Regions from separate parts of the Homo sapiens genome. Here all the other regions are linked to region 3. The links are contacts of gene promoters, found by promoter capture Hi-C in blood cells and fetal thymus (Javierre and others, 2016). All regions are on one chromosome and are shown on one strand. The core of a region is centred on a gene start or on the middle of the fragment in contact, and the rest is flanking DNA. Distances in the headings are between cores, read along the strand shown.

Region 1 (2,700 bases), core at 195-2,694, 320 kb before region 3:
GTGTCTCTGTATAGAAAAGCTAGAGCATGTTCCATTTATTCTTTATTTCTCAAGGTTATTAATCTGTCAGAGAGATTTTAAATTTTTCTAATTCAGCATTATATAATATTAAAATAATTTTGACCTAAGTTGAATAATTGTATTTCCTTTTTATTTGTTCATAGGATAATTCTAATTTATACATGGTTATGGAATATGTCCCTGGGGGTGAAATGTTTTCACATCTAAGAAGAATTGGAAGGTTCAGGTAACTAATGGTTTTGCTTTCTTCAAATCTTTATATGCTTGTGTTGTTTAACCAGATTTTTAAGTTGATGCCAATGCCAAAAACTTATTTTGTTTGATTAATATTTTGGCCATATGAAGCATTAGGTGGAAACAAAGAGGCCACATCATACACAAGTTTTAATATAAAGAATATAAAAATTTAATATAAAAAAAGGACTTTGAAGCCAATTTAAATGTTATACTACTGCTAGATATTGTGAGGGTCCACTACTTGAAGAGTTTTCAGAAAATGGAAAAATTAATTGAATTTTAAAATATCAATATTTATTAAACAAAGATTAATAATACAACTCCAGGACAGAGGATTGTTTTAAGGATGAAGATGGAAAATAAATATATAGAGAAATAATAATAATAGTATTATGGTAATAAGATTATAAAAGTTTGTTTTTCACAAATTTAATTCTCCTTAAAGTTCTTGCTAAGTTTAGTTTTTAAAATATACACATAATTTAACGGGAGTTTGTACCTCATCAGGTTATGACTAATAAGATCTCAGAGTTATTAAAATAGGTTATAGAATCTGATGGTTTTACCTGTACTTAATAGTTTATAAGCTTCTACCGTTCATTAATAATCACTAATAGAATAAAGCTAAAATAAAAAACAGGTACAGCTTCATTCAGTATAGTGTGTTGAAGTCAAAATAAAAATGTAGAGACAAATCTCTAAATTCAACATTTTATTGAGGAAGCAAGAATTGCAGTTTGAGGCATATACACAGACTAGGTGGTCTTCAATGTGTCTAGAAAACAAAGAAAAGGTTGGAGGTTTTATAAAAAGAAATTTTATGTTTATTTGTTTTGAAACAAAGTTTACTAGCACTAGTTAAGTTTTGGGGAGCTGGCAAGCTCTGATTGGTGAGTGATGGTGGTGGGTCAGACTCGTCTAAGAGTCGCAGTAGGTTGTCTCAGTAGCTGTTAGAGAAAACTGGTTTCAGGTTACAATAGGCAGTTTCAGCAACTAGACTTGTGGAAAATATAATTTTTTTGTTTGTTTTTGGTTTTTTTTTTGAGACTGAGTCTCCCTCTGTTGCCCAGGCTGGAGTACAGCGGCACCATTTCGACTTACTGCAACCTCTGCCTCCTGGGTTCCAGTGATTCTCTTGCCTCAGCCACCCGAGTAGCTGGGACTAGAGGTGTCCGCCACCACATCCGGCTAATTTTTCTATTTTTGGTAGACACAGGTTTTCACCGTGTTGGCCAGGCTGGTCTCGAACTCCTGATCTCAAGTGATCCACCCTCCTTGGCCTCCCAAAGTGCTGGGATTACAGGTGTGAGCTACCACACCTGGCCTTAATTCTTGGAGCAGGTGCTGTGTGCCCTGAGTGCGTTATTCCCTGGCCCCTCGACTCTGATTTAGTTAGGTATGATGAGAATGACTAATTTGTATAATCAGCTTTCACATTTTTCCCTTTTGATCAAGATCTTTCTCTGAAAGCATTGCTTGTCAACCATCTTGAAGTTAGGCTTAATTATTCCTTGGTGCTCGGATGGACTTGTTCTGGTTGTCTCTGTCCCACATATGAGAGAAGTTATCTGTTGGGGGGTGTCTATGTAGGGACCTGGGCCACATTCAAGTAACGAGGAGGCCAGAAGGAAAATTTTTCTCAAAGTAGATTTTTGTCTGGAGTCCAGCCAGCATCGAGTTCCCACTTATCACTTCCATAGGTATTAGCAGTCATCTTTAAGTGTTGGGCTAACGTTATTCTGTTGGGACAGCTGCCTTTACAAAGATTAGATAGGCACTAAGAACAAAGCTTACAAATGATAGTACAAAAAAATTAACAATATAGTAAAATGTATTTGTGCAGTGCTTTTGAACTAAAGCCCAGGCCTAAGGGCAAAAAACTAAAGAAATCAAAGGACCAGGGGAAACTGGTGAGACCTGCTATAGCCATTGACTAACATTTTATGACTGGGTTGAACTAAAGCAGAGAATGCCAAACTTTGCAAGAGGGACCACCAGCACAAATTAAACAAAAAATTGTGTTAAGGATATTGTCGATGTTGTGACTAGATGAACTGAAAGAATTTCTTAAGTCAGGCTTTGTCAATGGCTTTAGCAGGTCTCACCAGTACCTATAGCAGTTACTGATTGTGAATTTTAAATTACAATATTATTTGGTTAAGTGAAAAAGCAGGCATTAAGAGGGGTAAGAGTTTCATTACAATATGGAGTCTTGTTCTAGTGTTTTGAGAAAAGCTGTTCACACCATGGAAAACATCAACTTTCTTGGCTTTGTTTACAGTGTAAATGTCTCTGGCTATGGCTTTGGGCAGTTTGATGAACTTTCTGTGTGGCCCATACATCAGGCATGAGACTTGTTTCTTAAAATTTATATAGTTTCAGCTAACAGGACTTCAGGAACAGAGCGGTTCTCATTTTAGTAATTTTATGGAAGAAAGTTCG
Region 2 (2,827 bases), core at 297-2,796, 300 kb before region 3:
ATGTTAATATGAAGATGTTATTCTTATTTATTTTCTTATGAATACTTACAAATTTTAATTTTAGTAAGCTTAATATGAAAAAAACAAACATAACCTGTGATTTTTACATTTGGTTTGCAAAGCACTTTTTACACACGTTACTCCCTTTCATTTGATACAGTCCTCACAAAACTCTGTGAATTCATTTTTTTCCTGCATATCTTTTAGATATAGGAAGCAAGACAGTAGATAGCAGAAGTAAAGTATACCTAAATATTTACATGAATTGAATTTTACATTAAACTTTTTGCTTTCACAAAATCCTATGAAGCAGATGGGATTATCCCTAGCACATTCACCCTCCTAACTCCAAAAATATAGAGTATTTTGAAGTCAACTTCATTATTTACTATGTAGTCCAGTTTCTATTATTTTCTTTGAAAACTTTTGATCTTTCTAGGCATGCTGTGGAAAATCTGTTTCATAAGATTATGGACCTAGAGTGGGCCTTAAGAAGTAATGTGGTCTAACTGCCTTCCTGTTATTGAGCAAGAACTAAATTATACCAGTGAAATAAAGAAAATTTCATTGTCTATAATATTCTTAATAATTTTAGGAAGAAGATTTAATACTCTTTCCTAATATCCAATTTCAGTATCTGGAAATCCTCTCCTTTGTTTAATTTAAATCTGACCTGATACATTTGGTTCATTTTTAAATTCTGTCCTGAATAGCTGCTCAGCAATTGCTTTAAAAAAATTTTTATATGCTTCCAGATCATTTTGAAATTATCTTTGACTTCATTCTCTTTTGAGTAACTTAAGTAACAATTGACATTGGTGTTGGTTTATCTCAGGGCTACAATAAGGCAGTGGATTGGTGGGCATTAGGAGTGCTAATCTATGAAATGGCAGCTGGCTATCCCCCATTCTTTGCAGACCAACCAATTCAGATTTATGAAAAGATTGTTTCTGGAAAGGTAAGTAAAACATTTTATTATTCCTCTCTTATTACTGTATATGAATTTTAAGCTTCATGAATTGAAACTATATTGTGTCATAATTATTATTCTACATTGGGAAAAATATAGAAAAATCTACAGTTGCTGCTCTTACTATCATAAGAATTGAATCATTTCAGTCTCTTAAGAAAAAAAGGGCAGTTTTATAAAGAAATTAACAAAACAGTAAAGCAATTTCTGTATTTAGTATTTTTATCACAAAGAACAGGATCATAGCCATAATTCTCGATATTCCTTCAAATAAATAAAAATAGTTTATTATTTCATGTGTCTATCTTCATGGAGAAAAGTTTTAGGGGCTGTTTTATATGCCCTTCCATTTTCAGGAGAGACTTCTTGTTTTAATTATGTCCAATACTATAACATTGGAAGTAAAAGTAAATATAAAATGAATAAGCCTTTTTCAGATGGAAATTTATAGAATTGATTTTAACAGAATTGTTCATATAGATTGTGATTATACTTGTCATTGGTTTTTAGCAAACATGGAAATAACATTAATTTTTCTTCAACATGAGTAGACTTACTGTGTTGTAGTATTTTACATTTTGTAAATTTCTTCATAAACCTTCCTTCTTTTGCACTTATAACCTCTAATTTGCTTTCAAGAGTGTTTTGTTTAGGGTCAGTCATTTGCTGTTGCCTTAGCTCAGACCTCGGATCTTTTTTTAAAAGACCATTGTCAATTCAATAGAAATGAGCTTGAATTTCCTACCATGCAGCAATGAAAGAATAGGCTTTTAAACATTCCCAGAAGGAGACCTTCTATACATTAATGACAAAATATATGGGAAGGGATATTTTGCTTATTTTCCCTTCTTTCTATTTCTACATGTGGTACTGCTTTGTCTTTTCTTTTCTTTCCCACATAGTCCCATTTAGAATATGATCAGGAAATAGAGCATCAATCTTTATCACATTAGCCTGAGATGTTATAGAGTTGAGGTTTTTTTGTTTTATTTTTTATTTGTTTGCTTTGTATTTTGTGACCTTCTTAGGCAGAGATAAGCCGGAAGGAGATAGTAGAGGGAAGGTCTTTATTTCTTTGTATCTCAGCCATATTCAAGCTCTACATTTAGTGTGAAAGCTTACCCTTGGCATCTATCAACTTACAATTTCCATTGTTAACTATTCACAAGGTACCCTGAATGTCTCTAATGTGGTAATTTATTTTTTTTGCCAACACTCAAATTTAAATCATAGATGCTGCACAGCTGGGCTGTAGCAACAAGACATTTGCCAATAGAATTAGTCTATCCAATCACCTAGAACATACATTTCAGCACAGTATTGTTCCCTATCTCATAGTACATATGCACTCTACCTGGGTCATGAGATTTTCCCTTGTATTTTGCCACGTTTTATGTAGAAAGTTTTATTTATTATCAGTATTCACAAATTAGGAGACTGACTAAAGAATTTATACTCCAACTATGTCAAAGGTAAAAAAATAAATACCTCTTACAGATAAATAAACCTAGCTAGGTGTTGAATGCTGTGCACTGATAAAGGCAATACAGAAAAGCAGAATGCAGTACTTATTTAAACAAGTATCAGTATCACTGCTGTTCTTCTTACATTTGTAGATCTCTGGCTTCAGACTTCTTATCTTTGTAATTGTTTTCTCCCAGCAGAACTTTTGATATGAACAAAACAAAACTTTGAGAAAAATTAACAGACAAGGCAGTGATTTATTTTTGAAGAATTTGAGAAGTGTAGACTCTCAAGAGGACTAAAGGTCATATGAAGAATGATGAGAGAACCAAAATACATTAAAATCACAAATGGAAGAAGAATATTTTACTAATACAAAAACTAAGAATGTAA
Region 3 (2,717 bases), core at 51-2,550:
TGTTTCTTTTTTTAACTGCAGAAGTGTTTCACATGTAGCCTGACCTATTGTACCAGAAAGAAGCCAATCCATTTAGGACTGTAAAAATCAGGAAATACTTAGAACAGCACTTGAATGTCAAGTTATTCTATCAACACAGACAAAAGGCTTTTTCTCCCAAAGTACCCCAAGACAAGGCCAATACTAACCAGACGCCAAAATAAGACCAATAATTACCCACAATAATCATTTTCTCCGGCATGCGGACCAGTCGATATCCCCAAGGTCAAATATGAGCAAACTGTGCCATAGGTATGAAATGCACGCTTTGTTCGAGGTTGTACGGGGCACTGACCGGAACTTTACACTCCAGGATCGTTTCGAAAAATGCTTATTCAATCCACAGTTTAAGTTATGCAATAATTCGCTTAAAAGTATGTGTTCAACGGACAAGAGAAGTTGAAGGTAAGAATTTAATACTAAAGGAAGTAGGTTTGGGAAAGATCAAATGGGAGAAAAGTCTGCTCTGAATCAAAAGTCGGAAAATACCCTGTCCGATGAGAAACAGGAGGCTGGCAAAGTGGGAAAGGAAGGGTGCGGACAGCGCGCGGAGGCGCAGCTGTTGGTGAGACCAGCCGAGAAGGCTGCCAAGGGAGGTAGAGACGGAGGAGGACCGGAATGTCGGCCACGGTTCAACCCAGGGGCCAGCCCGCCTCGGAAAGTCCTGGGGCGGAAGGGCGAACTAATCGTCCCCCTAAAACACAGCGTAGACCCACGCGGCGCCTGCTCTAAAGCTGGCCGCTCCCCGATCGCCGCCGCTGAGCGCGCGTCCTCTCCAGGGGAAGCGAGGGCCGGCGCGTGTCCCGCCCGCCCCCGCCAGCTGGGCCGCCGGATCCCACCCGCCGCCGCCGCCTTCCTCCCGCCTCGGCCGCCCGCCCCCGCTCACTTTTACGCGGTTGAGTCCGGCCTCCAGCCGGAGCTGTTGAACCACTTTCTTCATAGCGGCGACGCTGGAGGAGCCAGACATGGTGCACGCGACGGCCGGGCCGATTCGTGGGTCGGTGGGTCGTGGGCCGTGGGTCGGCGGGGCCAGACAACTCAGCGGCGCGCGGCGGGGGCGGGGCTCCGAACTTTGTCTCTAAGTTTCCGGTTCTGTGCTCAGCGGCTCCACCCTCGGTGCGCATGCGCGCCTTGCCAGCCCTCTGTTCCAGCTCCACACCCGGCCCCGAGCGCGAGCCTGGAGGAGGGGGAGGAGAAGGGGCGGAGCAGTCGGTGGGCGCGGCGGCTGCTGGAGGCTAGCGCGACCCGACTCTTAAGTTTTCTTTTCCTCTCCAGAGGGGCCGATTAGGGAGAGGTAAGGAGAGAGCTTACCGTTAGCCGCGAAGAACTAAGAGGGGGTCTGAAGAGGACCAGGGAGGGAAGGCAGAGCTTGTGGGAGTTTCTAAAAGGCCCGGCGGCGGGTGACCAGGAGGTCTCAGTTTTCCTCCCAGTTTGTGGGAAGGGTTGAGGGAAGTGAGGGGAGATACTGGGTGAGGCGTAGGAGCTACTGTGCACCCGGCGTGAGTCACCCGCACACCCCCGCCCCGTACAGGCGTGTCTCTCTGTGACCCGAGTTTGGCCAACAGGCATTTTCAGTTCCACCCCCAACCCCCAGCCCCGCTGACCCGAGGCGGAGAGCAGGCGCGGAGGTCGCTGTCGCGTACCCAGCGGAGCCGGGCGGGCGGGGAGCAGGGGCGCTGATTCGCTGGAGAAGGGATCTTCTCGAGGTTTGACTTTACTGGCTTCTTAGCTCTTGAATCGGTTTTTCTGAAGGAGATTGTGAAGAAGCCAAGGTGCTGGCTGAAGATTACACCTGTCTGCTCGGTTACCCATTTACTCTGGAGAATTAATGCTTATTGTACTTTTTAAAATAAAACTTATTTTTGTGTTTCCGGAAAGTTTGCTCTTTAGTATTTCCGTTGTAATTTATTACCTCCTGCTTGAAATTGAGTACCAAAGGAGTTTTTAGGAGAGAGGGTAGGGTCTAACCAAACAAAATAGGCTCAGCCAGTAGGTCTTTCTTTCATCCACGGAAATATGTGTGTTATGTCACAGCACTAAGGGCAGATGTTTCCTATTTCTTTTCGGGTAGTCAATCTCCGAATGCGCTGATGTTTTCCATTAATGTTAATAATTTTATCATTAATGGATTTCAAATTTTTTATTAGGGAAGCATGTGTAATTGCACTGGTCAACAAAATCTAATTTATTTACTCAACAGTTTATATCAGTTCGCAAAAATGTACATCGTAAGTTTAGCATTTTACTTAATTCATACGGATGTAATGATTGGGGTTAAAACCAGGGTTTGAATTCTGGCTCTGCTACTTACGGTATTCTTGGGCAAGCCACTTAAGTTACTGAGGCTTTATTTCCTTATTTCAAAGTAAATTATACAGCTTCGTAGAGTTGTTTTTCGGAATGAAATGACATTATATGTAAAAAGAATGTGAAAGCTATCTCAATAAATATTGTCTTTTCCCAAAAGGTATTGTAATTATTTCACCTTTGGTGCTTTGTTGACTGTATAATGCTAAAACGTCATTCATACTTTACAGATTTGTAAGATTAAACACAAGTATCTATTCAAAGAATGATCTGTTTTACAGTAGTTGTAAAATATATCACTGAACTCTTAGAACCGTGGTATGTTAATGCTGGAAGAGATTTTAGGGAATATATGGTCCAATAATTACTTC
Region 4 (2,700 bases), core at 113-2,612, 270 kb after region 3:
GTTACACACTGATCCTTAACGCTTTCAGCTGCTCCCTGGTTAACAGTCATTAGGCAGGCATGCAGCACTGTCATCCTGGGCCTCAGCCCTGCTGTCAGAACCCTCCTCCAGATACCTGAAGCAAAAAGAGGCAGGGGACCCCTTAGGTGTACTGCTGATTTGGAGAAATCCTTCATCCGACGGAAGGTCTTTCTAGGTTCCTCCCCTGACACTCCTATCTAAATAAAAACTACTTCTGAAGCCTGCATGACCCTTAGAGTTGGAATCATCTGAGCTGTGGAGCACTTACCCAACATATCCTGGGATTTGTCAAATGTTGCCGGTGATTCCAGAATTGCAGCTGACTACCTAATAGCAGACATCATGTCACTCCGCTCATGGTGACTGCTGTTAATCTGGATCTGGAAGTTCCATGTCGTTTGCTTTTGGCTTCTATGTCCTGGCGAGGCAAGTACAGGCAGCACTGTTGGTGCCCATTGTACGGGCAAGAAAACCAAGGTTTGAAAACAGGTTCGGTGACTCCCCACATAACCAAAGGGAGTGGTGGAGTTACAATAACATGAAGGAACTCTGACTCCCTTGTCCAATCACGCAGGGTTTAGTCATTTGTTTTTATGATCTCAATGAGGGGCCTTTGGCTCATAGTTCATTAATTTTCATCACAAACACTATTGAAAACCATTAATTGCCTGTGCTTTAAATAGCAGTGTGGAGTTTTTTCCTTGCCTAGCAAGACAATGGGTGTCAGTGGGTAGAAGGAGCACTGGGCTGGGGACCAAAAATCCTGGACTCTTGTTTGACAAGGTCACCACCAAACTGAGGGGCCTGGGAAGTCACAACCACTGAGGCCTCCCTCTCCCCATCTAGGAAGCGAAGAGGGCAGGAGTAAGGTACCTTCCCTCCCAGAACTCCATATGTGAAAGAAAGGGCATTTCTGATTTAGGGTATGTTTCACTTTCTCTAACCTTGGATCTGTCCCAGTAAAATGATTAAGCGAGGATATCTGTCTTTGCCAAAGTATGACTTACCTGGTCAGTCCAGATTGTTCAGGTGGGCTTATTGCTTTCTTGATTTGTAACCTTTTGTTTTCCAGTGACCTGGACTGTTTTTGGTATAGAATTTCATTCCCAGGTGATAAATTCCTTTAGGGAAGTGATAGCAAACAGGTTTAATCTTGAGGGCCCTTCAAATCAGTGAGCAGTGGCTGTCGGGAGCTCTGTGTTAATGTCTCTGAGGCCATGCTGTAAGGCGCCATGGGAACATGATTGATTAGCCATGTCTGCTGTGGGCAGGGGCTGGGGAATGCAGAGGGGAAGGGCTGTATCTGGGATAGCACTGTGGAATTGGAGCAAGGGAAGCCATGCCGAGTGAAAAGGCACAGAGCTGCTTAGAAGCAGAGCAGGGATAGGAATCCACACCTCCTCCCTTCCAATTCAGTGGCCTCCCACACAAGACTTCCTCTTTATTTGGTGTGATGGGCAATCAGGTGCTTAGAAGATACTTTCCGATGATGAGGATGAAACTGATGGTCTGGCAGCAGCTTTCTGCCTGCTCTCTCAGCAATGTGTAAACCCACACATGTGTTTTTCCCTTTCTGAGACACAGAAAGGCTCAACCTTTGACAAGAGATTGTCCAGGAAACATCAGTAAACACACCAAATGCCTACATTCCCATTAAAACATGCCTATCTCCTTCTAGGCAGTTCCAAGCGAGACTTCTAAGAGGTCTGCCTTGCACAACTCACAGGCAGCAGCTGTGAGGAGGAGAGGTGCACCCCAGGCTGTGGGTGGGAGGACAGAGGGAATGGGGAGGCAGGAACAATGGACCAGCCTCCTTGGCCTCACAGGAGGCGTCTGAATGAACGATGATGGCTCTTGGCCTTCCAAATGGCAAAGACACATTCCCAGAGAGGCCGGCTGTGGAGGGCTCCTGCCCAGATGGACTCGCTGTACTGTGAAGGAGCATTCTGTGTTCCCTAACTGGCAGCGGCTGCCCAGCCCATCAGCTTGCCTGACTGCACACCAAGGGCCCTGACGGCTTTCTCATGGGGCACCCCGGGGCTTCTGCCCCAAGCAGATGCTGGGCTTTATGTTCCCACAGAGAAGGCTTGCCCGTGGCGGTCCATCCATCTTCCTCTCCTTCATCTGAGAGGCAGTGTGGCCTGCCCTGAGGGTCTGCAGGGAGCGCTCTCACCAGGCCTGGGAGGATGCTGCCAGGGAGGAGAGTGCCCTGGAGCCTGAATGCCTCTTTTGTTTGCAATGAAATAAAATCTGCCCTTTTAAAAAGCATCCACGCTGCCAAAATCCCAGGTAAAGGGGGTGTGGTTGACTTGCTGCTAGGGAGGAATTCCTTAAGCTCTGCAGGCTATACACCCTCCACAGGAAAGGCCTGGGCCTGGCTGTTGATGATGATGGGATTTCTCCCCCAACACATGCACCTCCCTTGGCTGGCAGGCAACTCAGGAGTGAGGAATGACCAAAGCCAATTCCCAGAGCAGCGGAGGAGCACGGTTCACCTTCCAGTCAGTGCCTCAGGGCAAGCCCTTTCCATCCTCTCCATAGCGCCACCTCTCAGCGGGAGAAATGCTTGGTTCACACACAGGGTCCACCCTGCTCCCACCTGGCTCTTTGAGCTAACGAAGTATCACCCTTTACAGGTCCTGGTTCTGATGCACCAAGATGTCTGATAATAATAAAAAA

What was found. Contacts are between HindIII fragments. The CHiCAGO score rates a contact against its expected background, and 5 or more counts as called.
Region 1: a contact is called between a fragment that was not itself captured here and the fragment with the promoter of SPATA1 in region 3, in 7 of 17 cell types (fetal thymus, M0 macrophages, erythroblasts and 4 more). The highest score is 6.9, in fetal thymus.
Region 2: a fragment that was not itself captured here is called in contact with the fragment with the promoter of SPATA1 in region 3 in 1 of 17 cell types (fetal thymus); the score reaches 5.0 in fetal thymus.
Region 4: a fragment that was not itself captured here is called in contact with the fragment with the promoter of SPATA1 in region 3 in 4 of 17 cell types (megakaryocytes, M2 macrophages, fetal thymus and 1 more); the score reaches 7.4 in megakaryocytes.

The regions. Positions count from the first base shown.
Region 1 is chr1:84,184,936-84,187,635 of GRCh38, forward strand. PRKACB (protein kinase cAMP-activated catalytic subunit beta) reads left to right here. Exons shown (of 10, transcript NM_182948.4): 5 at 165-247. Among named protein-coding and RNA genes, the nearest start is that of PRKACB, 42 kb to the left of the region's middle. The HindIII fragment of the contact is 1,202 bases long and covers 844-2,045 here.
Region 2 is chr1:84,201,848-84,204,674 of GRCh38, forward strand. It overlaps PRKACB (protein kinase cAMP-activated catalytic subunit beta), which reads left to right. Exons shown (of 10, transcript NM_182948.4): 8 at 836-958. Among named protein-coding and RNA genes, the nearest start is that of PRKACB, 59 kb to the left of the region's middle. The HindIII fragment of the contact is 1,077 bases long and covers 1,009-2,085 here.
Region 3 is chr1:84,505,086-84,507,802 of GRCh38, forward strand. SPATA1 (spermatogenesis associated 1) reads left to right here and starts at 1,301. Exons shown (of 14, transcript NM_001397487.1): 1 at 1,301-1,333. GNG5 (G protein subunit gamma 5) reads right to left here and starts at 1,496. Exons shown (of 4, transcript NM_005274.3): 1 at 1,351-1,496; 2 at 926-1,216. The coding sequence starts at 1,006. RefSeq lists silencers at 762-891, 1,142-1,221. The HindIII fragment of the contact is 7,618 bases long and covers 1-2,717 here.
Region 4 is chr1:84,772,845-84,775,544 of GRCh38, forward strand. No RefSeq gene overlaps it. Among named protein-coding and RNA genes, the nearest start is that of SSX2IP, 84 kb to the left of the region's middle. RefSeq lists an enhancer at 2,016-2,515. The HindIII fragment of the contact is 3,509 bases long and covers 1-2,700 here.